Regions from separate parts of the Homo sapiens genome. Here all the other regions are linked to region 1. The links are contacts of gene promoters, found by promoter capture Hi-C in blood cells and fetal thymus (Javierre and others, 2016). All regions are on one chromosome and are shown on one strand. Each heading gives the region's core, a stretch centred on a gene start or on the middle of the fragment in contact. The rest is flanking DNA. Distances are from core to core; before and after follow the strand shown. Region 1 holds the start of SPMIP3 (sperm microtubule inner protein 3). Region 2 overlaps SDCCAG8 (SHH signaling and ciliogenesis regulator SDCCAG8). Region 3 overlaps SDCCAG8 (SHH signaling and ciliogenesis regulator SDCCAG8).

Evidence for each region. Contacts are between HindIII fragments. The CHiCAGO score rates a contact against its expected background, and 5 or more counts as called.
Region 2: a fragment that was not itself captured here is called in contact with the fragment with the promoter of SPMIP3 in region 1 in 2 of 17 cell types (fetal thymus and neutrophils); the score reaches 9.4 in fetal thymus.
Region 3: a fragment that was not itself captured here is called in contact with the fragment with the promoter of SPMIP3 in region 1 in 4 of 17 cell types (total B cells, neutrophils, naive CD8 T cells and 1 more); the score reaches 7.5 in total B cells.

What each region holds. Positions count from the first base shown.
Region 1 is chr1:244,351,353-244,353,884 of GRCh38, forward strand. It overlaps SPMIP3 (sperm microtubule inner protein 3), which reads left to right and starts at 1,283. Exons shown (of 5, transcript NM_001012970.3): 1 at 1,283-1,382. The HindIII fragment of the contact is 3,357 bases long and covers 1-2,532 here.
Region 2 is chr1:243,329,901-243,332,432 of GRCh38, forward strand. SDCCAG8 (SHH signaling and ciliogenesis regulator SDCCAG8) reads left to right here. Exons shown (of 18, transcript NM_006642.5): 10 at 640-792. Among named protein-coding and RNA genes, the nearest start is that of MIR4677, 15 kb to the right of the region's middle. The HindIII fragment of the contact is 1,395 bases long and covers 566-1,960 here.
Region 3 is chr1:243,347,152-243,349,683 of GRCh38, forward strand. All of the region lies in intron 12 of SDCCAG8 (SHH signaling and ciliogenesis regulator SDCCAG8), which reads left to right. Among named protein-coding and RNA genes, the nearest start is that of MIR4677, 2.2 kb to the left of the region's middle. The HindIII fragment of the contact is 6,251 bases long and covers 1-2,532 here.

The DNA.
Region 1 (2,532 bases), core at 33-2,532:
AAATAGAAATACTTCATTTTCAAAAGAGAATCTCCTTCCATGGTGGTGGTGGAGATTCTAGATGGTGTGTGTCTAATAGCTAAAAAAACGTGTGGTGCTCACTCAACAAATCAAACCAATTTATCCTTTCTCTTAGTGTGGTTCCAGTTTGTTGCTTCTGTCCTCATATATTTATTTAAGTTTTCCCTAGCTTATCTGCTTTCAACAAAATGCTGTCACCAAGACTCTGTCATTACATTATTTTATGCCTGTTCCATGTAGGTTAAGCTCCCAGCAGGAACCCAGCCTGGCCCCTGGTCTCTCCTGAGTGCCTTCTGGAATCTTATGGAAATATTTTACATTCTAACCTGCAAACTGTATATAAGTGAGAAGTGTCCCTGTTTCCAGGACAACCTACTGTAGATAATGCCAGTGTTGGCTGGGTGTGGTGGCTCACGCCTGTAATCCCAGCACTTTGGGAGGCCGAGGCGGGAGGATCATGAGGTCAGGAGATCGAGACCATCCTGGCCGTGGTGAAACCCCGTCTCTACTAATATACAGAAACTTAGCCGGGCGTGGTGGCACGCGCCTGTAGTCCCAGCTACTCAGGAGGCTGAGGCAGGGGAATCGCTTGAATCCGGGAGGCAGAGCTTGCAGTGAGCCGAGATTGTGGCACTGTACTCCAGCCTGGGCAACAGAGACTCCATCACAAAAAAAAAAAAAGAAAAAAAAATGCCAGTGTTTCGTTTTGGTTTGGTTTGGTTTTGACAGAGGTTGGTCAGAATAAATATTTTTGCCACTCTCTTCTTCTCAGGTTATGGCTTGCTTCTATATAGTGGTGCTGTTGTGATACTCCATGGATTGGTTTGCAGCATATTTTTAAATAATTAAAATTATCCTTTGATACCTGCAAAGGAGCAGGTTGGAGCCTGACCTAACCTTGGACAAGGCGGGGCTGGCCTCATCTGCCCCTCGTGCCAAACCATCCTTCCTCAATTCCAGCTTGCAAAGGGCAGGACTCCTCAGTGTGGCACCACCCAGATTTTCACCTTACGTTGTCCTTGGGACAATCTTTACAGGAAAGCAAGCTCTAGTGATTAGATAGCCTGGTTATTTGCCTACATGATTTTCCTTTTCACAGTAATTTTTGCCCCTTCTTTCATGTGCAGCTGGTCTCTCCCTAGAGACCAAAGGAGCACTCTTTTTCTAAGCCCAGGACCTGAAAGGCATTGCCTGGCAAAACCTTGCAAGCCAGTGTGCGTCACAATACCCTTTGAATGATGTAAAGGAATCAGGCCCTGCCACTCTGCAGTTGATCCAGCAGCAGGAGGCAGCTGTACCCATCACTGTCCTCAGAGTACTTTTAAGAACAAGGAGGTCTCTGCCCACGGCAGCCCAAGCAGGTAATAGCGGTTGGTTGTTACTGCCTGTACCTCTCTCTCGCCTCATTTAGAGGTTGCATTACTAAATGGTTGACTGCATTTCAAATATTTTAGAGACAGGAACTCACAACATAAAGAAACTTCATGGCAAGCCTTTTGGTAAAGCAAAAATGTCTTTTGGAAAGTGAATACTCATCTCTCTCAACTTTGAATTCTTGTCATAGTTTTAACTCAACGTGTCTTTTTTTTCTTAGAAACGGGTACACCTATATTAAATAAGATAATTGGTTCTCTGTGATACAAGAAGACCTAGGTTTTAAAAACTGTGAACTAGATTAACAGGTTACTGAGTTAGCTGATCGATTGATTTATTCACTCATTCTGAAGTATGCATCAAGCACTCCTTGGACAGCGAACACTTTGCAAGAGAATGAGTTAGGAGAAGGACAAAGAGAGTGAAGATCGTGGCCACCAAACGAAGTGGTCCCCAACATCTAGGAGCTCACATTTTACCTGAAGAGACAAAGTGCTGTATAAAACAGATGTCTTGGCCAAGCGTGGCGGCTCACACCTATAATCCCAACACTCTGGGAGGCCGAGGTGGGAGAATCACTTGAGCCCAGGAGTTTGAGACCAGCCCGGGCAACGTAGCAAGGTCCTGTCTCTGTTTAAGAAAACAAACAACAACAACAACAACAAAAAACCCAGATGTCTCGTTGTTTGAAGAATTTCTAGAACCTTATCCAAAGCCTGGTGGAGAGTTGTCACTAATTTTTCTTAAATAATAAAATGAATAAATCAATTCAGAAACCAATAAACCAAAAAGGAAAGGACTCAGAACCAAAATGCGTAGGAGAATCTCCCAGGGGCTCTGGGAATTCACAGGAGGGAAATGGGCCATTTGAAACTCAGAAGAGAGGCCTCCTAGGGAACGTATGTAGGACCTGAACAAAGCCCTGAAGAATGGGCTTAATTTAGGCTAGAGAAGGAAAAAAGAAAGAGTATTCAGGCAGCAGAATTCATTACAGAACTGGTGAGAGTCAGGGGAGAAGGGAACCAACCTTCCTGAACTGGGAAAACTGCCTGCCTGAGAAAACAGAAGCAACAGGGGACTATCAAAGTAACTCATTGCTGCGAGCCCTCTTCTAAACAGCCTCTCATCGCACAGGCT
Region 2 (2,532 bases), core at 13-2,512, 1.0 Mb before region 1:
AAGATCCTTATAAAACTAAGTAGTGAATACTGTCTTGAGTCTTTCCATTTAACTTACGATTATTACATAATTTTTACTTCAGTTGTATGTTTAAGGGGAGTGAACTAAATTTTCTCTTAGTTATATTTAAGGAAACTTGATTATTATATAGTATTAAACAAAAGATGCCTGTGTGTAATGATATATTCAACATTTCATTTTAGTATTTTGATCTATCATTTGAAGTATTCCAATAATTTTTATCCATGAGCAAATAAGAAATCAGTTAAATTGGATACTTACGTATTTCGTGTAGTATAAACATGATATATAATTGAAAATATTAGAACACTTGGTGTTTCTGGTTCCCTTTTTTAAAATTCTGACTCATCTGTGGCCGTCATCAAGGTTCATTACCTGAATTTTGTCATTGATTAATTAATATGGCTTTAATCATGAAAATTGAAATATGTCAATAAATGTAACATTTGGATACTCTTTTAGGTCAATAAGTGGTATTGATAAACAATAAAAAATTATTCTAATGGGCTTTATAGTGAGTTTTTGCTATTTTAAATATACTTAAAGCTTAATTATGTCATTTTACCTATATTTTTTCCAAATTCTAACCTCCTCTTTCAATCTGTTCTATCCTGGCAGGCTTTAATCCAGTGTGACCAGTTGAGGAAGGAGCTGGAGAGGCAGGCGGAGCGACTTGAAAAAGAACTTGCATCTCAGCAAGAGAAAAGGGCCATTGAGAAAGACATGATGAAAAAGGAAATAACGAAAGAAAGGGAGTACATGGGATCAAAGGTACTTAAGGACTCTGCTGTTATCCACATTGCAGAAGAAAGGTTTTTTATGATGCCATTGATGATTCCATAGGCTGGAGTTCTTGAATGAACTTTAAATTTTAAAATCGTTATTATATAAGTAGTTAAATTTCGTATAATTTAGAATTCATAAAAATGTTTTATCTTTTCATATATTTCTCAATAGTTTATGCTGATCTTTTCAAATAAAATAATCAGTTAGATTCCATACAATGAAATTACAAAATTTACTTTAAATCCTGCCATTCTGTTGGATTCCCTCTCTCGTGTTTCCCAGAGTCGTGCTATGAAGATACCCAGATTTTATTTCAACCTTGGCTAAATCAAGGAGAGATGACTTCCCCTGCATTATCTCCTACCCCTAAATTAAATATGCAGAAGATGAAACACTTGTAAGGAACTGAGTAACCAAGAAAAAGTGATTATGCACTCTGTATGAAATCAGTTCTGACAAATTACATGATGAATAATGACGGTAACCAGATGAAGGGAGAGATTTAAGGCAAAAGGAACAGATAACATGAAACAAGCAGTGTTTGAAAAGGAGTTCACAAACTAGAATACAGAGTTGAGTGGGACCTAGCTTTAAAATTGCTAACTAGACTCGAATTGAGCAAGTTGTGGTCCATCAAGTAACCAAAACAACTGTGTTACATGTTTGTTTTTAAAAGTGGACTCACAGCTTGTACTCTAAATGCTATGTTGTTATCAGATTCAATGTGTGATAATTAACTTATTCAGTAAGTATATACTGAGTATGTGCTGTGTGCAAAGCAATGTGGAGGCCTAAAGATATGTAAAGAGAAAAATCACAACTTCTGCCCTATGAGTTTTAAGTCTTAATAAGAGTAAACTCAGGCATTTCCTGTAAATGTCCTTGTCTTCTTATCCATTTTTAAAAATTGTGTCTGTCAAAACCCTACTACCTACCTTCTCTGCCCTGGATTGGTGATCTCTGCTGGTAAAAATCACACAGCCTTGCAGATGACATGGCTGTAGACTCCAGGTCTTCGGTGTCCACGGTCCTTTCAGTGCTTTCTAGCAGTCCTCTTTTGCCTTCCTCTCTCTTATTCATTCCACACTCAACAGATATTAACCAGAGGGGCTGGGAATGTTGTAGTCACAGGAACGATGCAGTTTCCTCATGAAGCTTACAAACTCGTAGGAGAAGTAGATGTTACACAAATGTTTTCATAAGTGAGTTTTCGATCATCATTGTGATAAAGCCATAAGGTTCGGTTTAGGATATCGTGGGAATGTGTAACAGGAATCTGACCTTGTCTAGGCAGTCACGAAAGACTTTCCTGAGTAAGAGATGTTGAAAATGAGACCTGAAAGCATTGATGAATGGACAGGTGAAGAGGGGAAGAGGGTTTCAGGCCCAGGAATATAACACACCCAAGACTCTGGACCTGGAAAGCATCGCACTTTCTAGGAATTTGGAGAAGGCCCTGATGGGTGGAGCATAGAGAGAGAGGAGCAGAGTAGTGGGAATGAGTTTGGAGAATTATGTTGGGATGGAATCATGAATGGCTTTAAAATCCATATGAAGGATTTTCAATTTTGTCCAAAAAGGGATGGAAAGCCATTGAATGGCTTTGAATTTGTCAGTGTCACGATGCCATTTATATTTGAGAAAAATCATTTTGTCAGTGGATTGGAAGGAGAAGCAGAATAGATGCCTGGAGATCAGCTGGAGGTCATTATCGTAGTCCAGGTC
Region 3 (2,532 bases), core at 21-2,520, 1.0 Mb before region 1:
CCACCTTCTCATCTTCATCTTCTTCTGTCTTCTTCCTCTACCTCTTTTTCTTCTTTTGCAGAAGTATTTTAAATGGATCTCAGACCTTATGTTATTTTACTCATAAATACCCATGTGGATCTATGAAGGATATTTTTACATACTATGTCATTATCATACCTAACAATGTTAACAATACTTCTTTAATATCAAATAACACCCAGCCTATATTCACATTTCTTTGTCTCAAAAATGTTGATTTTACAGTTGGTTTATTCAAATTAGGAGAACAAGTATGTTTTTGTATGTCCAATTTTCTGGTGTTACCCTTTTTAATAGGAAATAAACAGAACTCTTAGTAAAATTTCATCTTTCTTTGTTGTTGTCTGTTAAATTTTGTACATAATGTTTTGATTATGCTTTATTTTTATAAAATGCCTCATTGTCATTCTAAAGAGGTATAAATTAATCCTACAGCAAAGTATGTGAAGGAAATGGCTACCACGCAGCATTCCTGATAATCATATCCCAAAAGGAGCTTCCTCGCATCCGAAACCCCAAATTCAGCATTAATTTCACAGCCTTGTATTTAAGATTTGGACATGTTGCAGGAGGCCCTAACATGACAAGGATGAGCTGACCTGAAATGAGTGATGCAGAAATAGAGTTTTTTTGTCAACTTCCCTTTTGGTAAATTAATCTGAGAAGACGATTCTTTATAGCCGCTAACCTTTGATTAGGGCCCAGTGCAAAGTGAAAATACAGGACCCTTTTGTTCAGAAAGCAGGAAAGAAGTGATATTAAAAAGAACTAAAATATAAAACATTTTCCTTTCTTCTTCAGTCTCTCTCTCCTTGCCCCTCCTCCCTCACCAACCCAGGCTGGACATGCATTTTTTTTTTTTTTCTTTTTTTTTTTTTTTTAGGACGGAGTCTCCCTCTGTCGCCCAGGCTGGAGTGCAGTGGCGCGATCTCGGCTCACTGCAAGCTCCGCCTCCCGGGTTCATGCCATTCTCCCGCCTCAGCCTCCCGAGTAGCTGGGACCACAGGCGCCCACGACCACGCCCGGCTAATTTTTTTTTTTTTTTTTTTTTGTATTTTTAGTAGAGACGGGGTTTCGCCGTGTTAGCCAGGATGGTCTCGATCTCCTGACCTCTTGATCCGCCGGCCTCGGCCTCCCAAAGTGCTGGGATTACAGGCATGAGCCACCGCGCCCGGCCTGGGGCGGGAATTCTTACCTCCCTGTCCAGCTCTAAGATGGCAGGGATGGGCACACTTGACTCAATCCTCTCTAAACACACATTCAGGATTCTGCCAGGGGCAAAAGACACAGGAGAACACACACCTCCCCCAGTGACATACGCACCTCCCCCAGTGCCCTGGTCCCACCCTAGGTGGAGGGACCCACCCCAGCAGCAGGGCAGGGCGGGATAGAGGAAGCTGGAGAGGAGTATATTTCTGAGAACTGCGTAGGGCTGCAGTGAGGCAGTGGAAAGATGAGACCACATACAGGAGTTCAGTCTCCATTGTTCCATCAGAGTACACCTACAAAACACAATTCTAGCCGGGCGTGGTGGCTCACGCCTGTAATCCCAGCGCTTTGGGAGGCCGAGGTGGCGGATCACCTGAGGTCGGGAGTTTGAGACCAGCCTGACCAATATGGAGAAACCCCGTCTCTACTAAAAATACAAAAAAAAAAAAAAAAAATTAGCCGGACATGATGGCACATGCCTGTAATCCCAGCTACTCAGGAGGGTGAGGCAGGAGAATTGCTTGAACCCAGGAGGCGGACGTTGTGGTGAGCCGAGATCACGCCACTGCACTCCAGCCTGGGCAACAAGAGCGAAACCCTGTCTTGGATAAAAACAAAACAAACAAAACAAAAAAAAAAAAACACAATTCTAAGATACAATTGCTAATAATTTCAAGACATTGACCACAGAGTATTAAACTGCAAGTGTAAGGACCCTTCTGAACAGCACATGTGTGACTGCACTGATCACGTGCCCAAGAAACTGCCATAACCAGGGGGATGGGCAAATGGAGATTTTGCATACTAATATATGTGTATATATCCCCACTCACATATACAGACACATATGCATATTCAATATGCTAATGTGCCCAGTATTCATAAAAAAGTGTTAGCCAACTACAGCTCATAGGTCAAGTCTGGCCTGCTGTCTATGTTACAAATAAAGTTTTATTAGAACTCAGCCATACCTACTCATATATGTATCACCTATTGCTACTTCCTGCAACAACAGCAGAGTTGAGGAGTTGTGGTAGAGACCATATAGCCCACAAAGCCTAAAATATTTACTGTCTGACCCTTTACAGAAAAAGTTGCCAATCCCTACCTTGAGTATAGAAATACAACTGTATTTTTTAAGTTTCCTCTGACTTACTAGGATGCTGAGCTTTGAGTTTGAAGACCCATGTATCTTAAATAATAACAATGGTTTTAGAGTATTTTGCAGTATAACAAATGTGCCACATCTTTAGTCTCTTAAAAATCTAATGGCATTACTCAGCGAGTGTATCACTGATAATC